Linked DNA regions of Homo sapiens: region 1 is linked to region 2. Evidence: promoter capture Hi-C in 16 types of primary human blood cells and fetal thymus (Javierre and others, 2016). All regions are on one chromosome and are shown on one strand. The core of a region is centred on a gene start or on the middle of the fragment in contact, and the rest is flanking DNA. Distances in the headings are between cores, read along the strand shown. Region 1 holds the start of CBR3-AS1 (CBR3 antisense RNA 1). Region 2 holds the start of RCAN1 (regulator of calcineurin 1).

Region 1 (4,088 bases), core at 802-3,301, 1.5 Mb before region 2:
ACATTATGCTACTGATAAAATTATTGGTTCAGTTCTCAAATAGCTCTTTTGCCAATGATCTTGCAATCTATCCTGGATATGTCTCCTGTGAGAGATTGAAGAGTTCAGTAAAACCGACAGTTATACAGGCTATAAATAACTAGACACAGAAAGAAGTAATCACACAAGAAGTGTATCTGCTCAGATACCTTAAAATCGAAAATGTCAGCAAGAAATCTCTCTCTTTACCCATTTTTAATTTCATAGAAAATCAAATTCAGGGTTGGGCACTGTGGCTCATACCTGTAATCCCAGCACTTTAAGAGGCCGAGGTGGAAGGATTGCTTGAGCCCAGGAGTTTGAGACCAGACTGGGCAACATAATGAGACCTTCGTCTCAAAATAATAATAATAATAATAATTTAGAAAAAGAAAAAAACAAGTTCAAGAGAAAAACCAACTGCCAGATCCCAAAAAAGTTCACTGTAAATATGTCTATATGAAGGAACATTTCTCAGTTCGATGAAAATGAGGACAGTGACCCTACCACATAAGCAAAAACATTTAGCAACAGATAACAGATATGTACTATTAGTAATAAAATTGATAATGATCCTTAGTCCACAGCACAGAAACACTCATCACCAATGGGCTTAATCAACTCTGGGACACACTGTTTTGAATGTGGTCTTTCAAAGTGGCAATTAAATTGTACTGGAAAAAATTTAAGCCACCTAATGGCAGCAGACTTGTGGGGCCGGGGGGACGGTCTTCCCTCGCCTTACCAAAAAAATCCTAGCAAAGTCTTCCCAATTGTGGGGCTGCAGTCGCGAGTGTAAGGCAACACTGCGGGTAACAGTCCCCGCGAGCAGCCGGGAACCCTGCAGGGCGCAGGGGCCAGGCTGGCAGAGCGCGCACTGCGGCCCGGATCCCTTCTCCTGGGGACTGGCTGGAAGACTGGGGTCTTCCCCAACGAGGAAAGCCCTTAGTTCTCACAGGTCTGCGTCCCCAGCCTCCTCCCCAGCCAGGGCACCAGCAAACAAAGGCTGAGCGTCTCTTCGTGGGCCGGCCCCGGGAGGGCGCGCGGGCCGCGACCCACCCCTGGACCTGCACCTGCCGCCCCGCTCGGCGAGGGCGTGGCCGGCATCATATCCTCCGCGCCAGGGTCGGGTAACCCTAGGGGACCCCACCCAGTCTCCCCGCTGCCCTCCCGGTCTCCGGCCCCGAGCTCTCCGCCCCCGCACTGCAGCAGAGCGCGCCGCAGGCCCGGGCCGCGCGCCGGTAAGCCACCTGCACCCCGGGCCGCCCCACGGCGCCGCCCAAGCCCTCTGGACCCGGAGAAGGACCCGCGGGCCGGCGGGGAGGAGATGCCCGGCTCCTCCGGCTTCGCCCAGCGGCTGAGGACTGGACGCCGGACAGGGCGCAGGCACGACTTACCGCGGCAGTGGCCCTGTTGGCGGGCGCGCTCACGTGCGGCGCGGAGGAGCCCTCCGGGCTGGGGGAGAGAGACTGGGCAGGGCTGCGGCGCGGCCGGGAGCCAGAACCGCCGAGGAAGAGCCGGAGAACCAGCGGCAGCGGCTCTTCCCCACCGCGCGGGTCGGGGCGGAGCCTGGAAGCCGGGCCTCGGCGCTTGGGGCGGGGCTGGAAGGCGGGGCTGGACGCCTGGAGGCGGGCTCAGGGGCGGGACCTGGAGGTGGGCCATAGGCGCGCGGGGGCGGGGTTTCCGCGGGCGGGGCGGAACTAGAAGACGGGGCCTGACCGAAGGAGGCGGGATCAAGGGCGGGGCCTGGAAGTGGGCTGTCCCTACAGGGGCGGGGCCTCGGCTGGCCGGGCTAGGCTGGAAGGCGGGGCCTGACTCATGAAGGTGGGATCAAGGGCGGTGCCTGGAGGCGGGCCATAACAACAGGGGCGGGGCCTCGACGGGCTGGGCTGGACTGAAAGGCCAGGCTTGACTCACGGAGTCGGGGTCAGGGGCGGGGCCTGGAGGTGGGCCTTAGACGCGGGGGCGGGGCTTCGGCTTGGGAGCAGGGCTTGGGGAGGGCCCCGGCGTACTGGGGCGGTTCAGTCGCCTCAGCCGCGGTGTGAGGGAGCGGGAGTCTTCCTTAGCTTCTCCGCCATGGGTGTCGCTTCGTAGCCGGGCTGCTCCGGGAAAGGCCTCGTACAGGTGAGCGGGGCGGCGTTCGCGCCTCACCTGGGGACCCCCGACACAACCGAGTGGAAGGGGACATTGGTCAGTGCCCGCCCAAGGTCGTCCGCGCGTGTGTCGGCCCTCGGAGGTGCTTTGGAGTCACTCACAGAAACGGAGAAGCGGGGGCTCCTCGAAGGGTGCGCGGCACCTGGTTCACCCCATCTTTTCCCTCTGGACCACGTCCAAGCCCTCCACACACGTTTGGGGCGCAGGGGGCGCGGCGGGCTTGGGACCCCTGCTAAGTTGCCCCAGCCCGCACGGGCCTCAGGTTTCCGACCCTGGGCGACAGGAGAGGTGAGATCATTTCTACCTGGACAGAGCTTATCACGTGGACTGTGGCTCAGGAAGGAGACCTTGACGTCAACCTTAGAAAGCATTCATATCTCCAGACAATCACCAGCCCCTGCCTGCCATCCTCTCGAGCGCTGGGACCTAGACGGTCCAGTCCGACCGCTTCAGGGTAGGACGCACCTGGAGGGTGCGCGGTAGGCAGTGCTCACCTGAGCACAGGCCCTGTCCCCACCCAGCTGTGGCTCCAGCCAACCCGAAGTGGGCCACTTGTGGATGAAGGCTGTCATTTCTGCAGTGGCCTCGCTCCTTTTAACTCCCGAGCGTCCTTTAGAAATGTTCAGACCAGGTCTGGAGTTCGTGAAGGCGAGGCAGTGGTCAATGAGCTTGGGAGGTGGGGGAGGTCATGAGCACCTGGAAGTTGTTTAGAACACTTTGTGTATATGCATGTTTCTAGGGGAGGGGTATATTATCAGCTTCCAAAGTGGATCTATCACTTCCCTGGAAACACTAAGAATATTTTAATAGCTTGGGATGCTGGACCTGTGGCCCAGCCAGGCTGCTGATTCTGATTTTGTCTCCATTTGGCATATACCAAGTGCCCCAGATGTAAATCCTCTCATGGTCAATTTGAGGAATGGTCTTAAGATAGAAGCAGAGAGAAACGAAAAGATTGAGCCATAGTTAGCAGGAAAAAAAATTAATTTCATGAAAATTGATTTCCTAATGAGAATATGATAAACTGGTTTTACAAAAGCAGCAAACAAAACCAGCAAAAACCAAAAAACAACAAAAAAAAAACAAGAAGATGGCAAGCAGGTGAGTTTTTTTTTTTTTTAGGTTCTTCAAATCCTAGTCACACTCAACACTGCACTGAACAGAGATGAAAGAACTGCTTTACACTTAACATTGAAAAAAGAAGTAGTCTGTTTGTGCCAAAGCCACCATGCACATACAATCTGTGCCTTGTATTCATATACCACCTATCTGTAAAGGATTCCAGGTGTGTGTGCGTGTGGGGGGGTTTAATTTAATTTTGACAAATTCATTTGTAAATCATAATTTAAAAAACTCAATTTATAATTGACAGTATACTGTCAATTACTGTATACTGTATACAATATACTGATACTGACAGGATTGACAGTAAATGTACAACATTGAGATTTGAGTATTCTGGCCGAGCGCAGTGGCTCACGCCTGTAATCCCAGCACTTTGGGAGGCCGAGGCAGGTGGATCACCTGAGGTCAGGAGTTCGAGACCAGCCCGACCAATATAGTGAAACCCTGTCTCTACTAAAAATACAAAAATTAGCTGGGTGTAGTGGTGTGCACCTGTAGTCCCAGCTACTGGGGAGGCTGAGACAGGAGGATTGCTTGAACCTGGGAGACAGAGGTTGCAGTGAGCCTTGATCACACCACTGCACTCCAGCCTGAGTGACAGAGTGAGACTCCATCTCAAAAAAAAAAAAAAAATTGCATATTCTGACAAGAAATATGTTTTCTTGGATCAAGTTGTCTTGTCACAACTTAAAAGTCTACTTAGCTACTTTCATCAGTTTAAGACATGCAGAAACGGTCAGGGTCCTTTCATAATAATACTCAAACCAAGTAAAGCATTTCAACTTTAATTT
Region 2 (4,032 bases), core at 364-2,863:
AGGTGATCAAGGCACAGCTTGGTTTTATACATGTTAGGGAGACATGAGACATCAATGAATGTATGTAAGCAGTACATTGGTTTGGTCTGGAGAGGCAGGACAACTTGAAGCAAAGGCAGGAAGACTACTGCAAAGGCAGGAGGCAGGAGGGAGCTTCCAGGTCACAGATAGGTGATAGACAAACGGTTACACTCTTTGGGTTTCTGATTAGTCTTTATAAAGGAGGCAAATCTGTCTCGGTGAAATGCATCTGTCTCAGTGAGCAGAGGGGTGACTTTGAATGGAATGGGAGGCTGGTTGGCTCTAAGCAACTTCCAGCTTTAGTTTTCCTTAGTGATTTTGGGGGCCCAAGATTTCCCTTTCACAGTATGACGGTTCCAATTTCTTCACATCCTCATATCATATTCTATTTTATGAGTTATCTCTAGATGGGTATTATTATTCCTCTTGGGTTTAGCTCCCTGAGGACACAAACTGTCCTAAGACTATGATAATAGTAATCATAGAACCGTGCACATGGCAAGTTCTGAATAAATCTCAGCTGTTGGATATACTTTTTGTTATAATTACTAACACTTCCTAACTAGAGAGTAAGCCTACTCTAAGAAAAAATATAACTGTAATTTCACAACCTCCAAAGAACCCAGTGCATAAACAGCTACCATTTATTAAGCACTGACTGAATTCTTAGTAATATGTCTTCATTTTTTTCAGATGAGGAAACTAAGATTCAGCTTATTTGTACAAGTAGTTAAAAAGCAAAGCTGAAATTCAGACCCAAGTTCTCACTGTATCATACTGTCCAAAAAAGAATTCTATTTTTCAGGAAGAGACATGTCTGCTCACTTGAGGTCCTCTTATTTTTCCGCTATTCCCCAAAGGAAAGGGGTGATCTCTTAATTCTTTCGTTATGTCCTATTGTACATAGCATATAATGGTAATTCAGAAAAATTACTTCTAATTACATAAATTTTCACAATGGTATAGTGACTAATACGCTGAAATAGAAAAGTAAGGCATTGTTATCATGGTCTAGTTCAGTCTTTATTGCGACTATATCTGATAATATACGGTAAGCATCTAACCACTTGCCAGGGGCCACAGAGCCACAGGGAGACTATGTCTCGCTTAAATTCCCAAAAGTGGGCCCCTGTGCTTCAAAACGTCCCCGCATGGGAACCACAAAAACGTTGCCTCCCCAGTTATCACCCCAAGGGCCCAAGAGCCGAGGACTCTGCCCGGCGTCCTTCAGCTGGCACCAGCTGTCAGAAAAGCGGAACTGGGGACGAGGACTTTGCCCCTAACCAACATGGCCGCCCTGAGGCTTCGGGCTTCGGGCGGCAGAAGGAAGGTCACGTGAAGAGAATTCCGTTCCTTTATTGGCCCCGTCTCCTGGAAGGGCGGGGTACAATAACCCAACCGGCGCCGGCCTTAAAGGGGCCACCGTTGGATCTGCCGGTGGCCGGCCCTAGGGGCTGGGGGGGCGGTCGCCGCGCCGGGCTTCTGCCCCTCCCGCGCGGAACGGTGACGGGCGGGGCTGGCGCTGGGAGGCCGTGTCGCTGGGAGACTGCTGACAGCCCGCCGCCTGCCGCCGCGCGATTCCGAGGGGGTTAACGGCGGAGCCGCCGGCCGGGCGCGGACCGGAGCGCGTGAGGCTCCGGCGCGCAAGCCCGGAGCAGCCCGCTGGGGCGCACAGGGTCGCGCGGGCGCGGGGATGGAGGACGGCGTGGCCGGTCCCCAGCTCGGGGCCGCGGCGGAGGCGGCGGAGGCGGCCGAGGCGCGAGCGCGGCCCGGGGTGACGCTGCGGCCCTTCGCGCCCCTCTCGGGGGCGGCCGAGGCGGACGAGGGCGGCGGCGACTGGAGCTTCATTGACTGCGAGATGGAGGAGGTGGACCTGCAGGACCTGCCCAGCGCCACCATCGCCTGTCACCTGGACCCGCGCGTGTTCGTGGACGGCCTGTGCCGGGTGAGGACCGCGCCGGGCGGGCCGTCGGGGCGGAGGGCGGACACTTGTTGCCCGAGGAGGCGGCGCGGGTCGCAGCGCCCAGTCCCGGCCGCGCGCGGGGCGGGGAGGCAGCGACGTCCCCCGGGCTGCTCGGCCGCGGACCCGTCAGGGCTGGGGCGTGGGGACGGCGCCCCGAGGGTCCCGGTCCCCTAGCACCCCCGGGGCGCGCGGAGCTCACTGCAGAGTCCCACAGGCTCGCCCCGGCCCCCGTGTGCGCCCAGGCTGGTGCGACTAGGGGGGTGAATTCGCTCCCCAAGGTGGGGCAGCGCCGCCGCCCCCTGCGCTCTCGCCATCGCCCCGCATTTACTCGCTGGAGGAGGGGGTCACCTCATTCCTAGGGAGGAGGAAACAGACATTGAGCGGCGACGTGACTCAGTGTTCATAAATAGGACGACGTCCCTGCATTCCCAATCTGCACTATTGGAAGAAAAGCCAATGTTTGGGTGAGGATCCGTGGTTGCTCATTAGCCAGCGGCTGGCCAGTTTTGGTGGAATTGTGTTGGGGGGAAGGGGACCATCTTTCAGACCTTTAGGATATTTAGTCAAGAACCTTGCCCCCTTGTGTGAAGGTGTGGCTTGCCGCCATCGGGGACACCCAGTACATGGGGAGTCGACTCCTTCCCCCGCCTCCCCCCACCCCCGCAAAATCCACACAATTTAGACACTTTGGAGGGTGAGGGGCAGGTATGAGTAATCAATAATGGTGGTGGGGAGGAAGAATTTATTTCAAATCTGCAGTTATTGTGCAGAATAAAATGTGGACAACGTGGGCGTCACAGAATGAAACCGGTCTTTGAGAGATGCCCCATTAGGAGAGCAGCTGTCAAAAAAAGCAGTGCTTTCAGCGCTTGGCTGTGGGTCCACAAATGCTGTCAATGAACTATAGTTGAAGGCTGCTGCCAATACAACACCACTGTGAAACAGAATGGTGTATGTAAGTGTCATTTATTTATAATTTATATGTTCACTTACTTTCTGAAAGGAATTACAATGGCCGTGTGCTTAGGTAAGCTTCCAGGCATGCTTTCTAGAGCAGCAATTGTCAGGAACTCAGGGTCTTACTGATTGATCTTACTCTAAAACCTTTTCCTCTCCATATAAACTAAGCGCTAGCCAGCATTTCAGACCTTTTCCTTAGGAGTTCTAGGCTGTCTTTCTGCTAGAACAAGGTCAAGTCACGTAAGACGGCACTTACTTGTAGTGTTGGAGACAATTTTTTCCAGTGTTGGATACAATCCTGAAATTGTGTTGTATGAAAGTTTGCCCACTTCGCTAGCTATTCATTTTAACAAATATTTATTGAGACTTCGCTACGGGATAGGTACTGTCCTAGGCTCTGAGGCTGCATCAGTAAATAAAATAGCATTTCTGCCTCCAGGGTTGACATTTTTTGGAAGGGAAACAAGCAATAAAGAAATATCAAATGTATCAGAAAGTAATGATGCTATAGGAAAAAATAAGACTTGGAGGGCAGGAGGAGGGAGTGGAGATCTGGGAGTGGAGGGGAGATTGCTATTTTCCATAAGATGATCAGGGAAGGTCTTACTGATATGGTGATATTTTGAGCAGAGACAATGTAGCATTGGTTCATTCAGGCTTTGCTGTCTATTGAGTGCTTACTGTGTTCCAGCCACTGGTTTAGGCCCAGAGGATAAAGCAGGGAACATTTCAAGCTCCTTGCTTTCATGGAGCTTAGGATCCAGTGGTTGAGGGGGAGATAGACAATAGGAAAAAGGCAAGTGAACAAGATCATTTCGGATAGTGATAAATGCGATGAAGAGACTGAAACAGGGATAGAGAGCAAGGGGAGGGGGCTTGGTCAGAGTGGTCAGGTCCTAACACTGTGGGGGTTTTGTTGAAGAGCTGGTGAATTGGGGCAGTCCTGAGGGAACTAACAAGGGATGTCCAGGCCTGCAGCCATGAGCAACAGCTGGAAGCTGGAGCTGGGGGAGGAAGTCACGTGGCTGGAAACCTAGGGGAGGAGCTGCCTGCCAGGAGCTGTAGACTTGAAGGTGTGGAGTTGAGAT

The links. Contacts are between HindIII fragments. The CHiCAGO score rates a contact against its expected background, and 5 or more counts as called.
Region 1: the fragment with the promoter of CBR3-AS1 here is called in contact with the fragment with the promoter of RCAN1 in region 2 in 1 of 17 cell types (neutrophils); the score reaches 8.8 in neutrophils.

The regions. Positions count from the first base shown.
Region 1 is chr21:36,154,271-36,158,358 of GRCh38, reverse strand. It overlaps CBR3-AS1 (CBR3 antisense RNA 1), which reads left to right and starts at 2,051. Exons shown (of 3, transcript NR_038893.1): 1 at 2,051-2,142. It overlaps DOP1B (DOP1 leucine zipper like protein B), which reads right to left and starts at 1,535. Exons shown (of 37, transcript NM_001320714.2): 1 at 1,416-1,535. RefSeq lists silencers at 1,041-1,340, 1,371-1,920 and enhancers at 2,101-2,160, 2,241-2,290, 1,675-2,341, 2,342-3,009. The HindIII fragment of the contact is 13,180 bases long and covers 1-4,088 here.
Region 2 is chr21:34,612,694-34,616,725 of GRCh38, reverse strand. It overlaps RCAN1 (regulator of calcineurin 1), which reads left to right and starts at 1,613. Exons shown (of 4, transcript NM_004414.7): 1 at 1,613-1,966. The coding sequence starts at 1,715. RefSeq lists silencers at 1,379-1,808, 1,999-2,098. The HindIII fragment of the contact is 8,899 bases long and covers 1-3,018 here.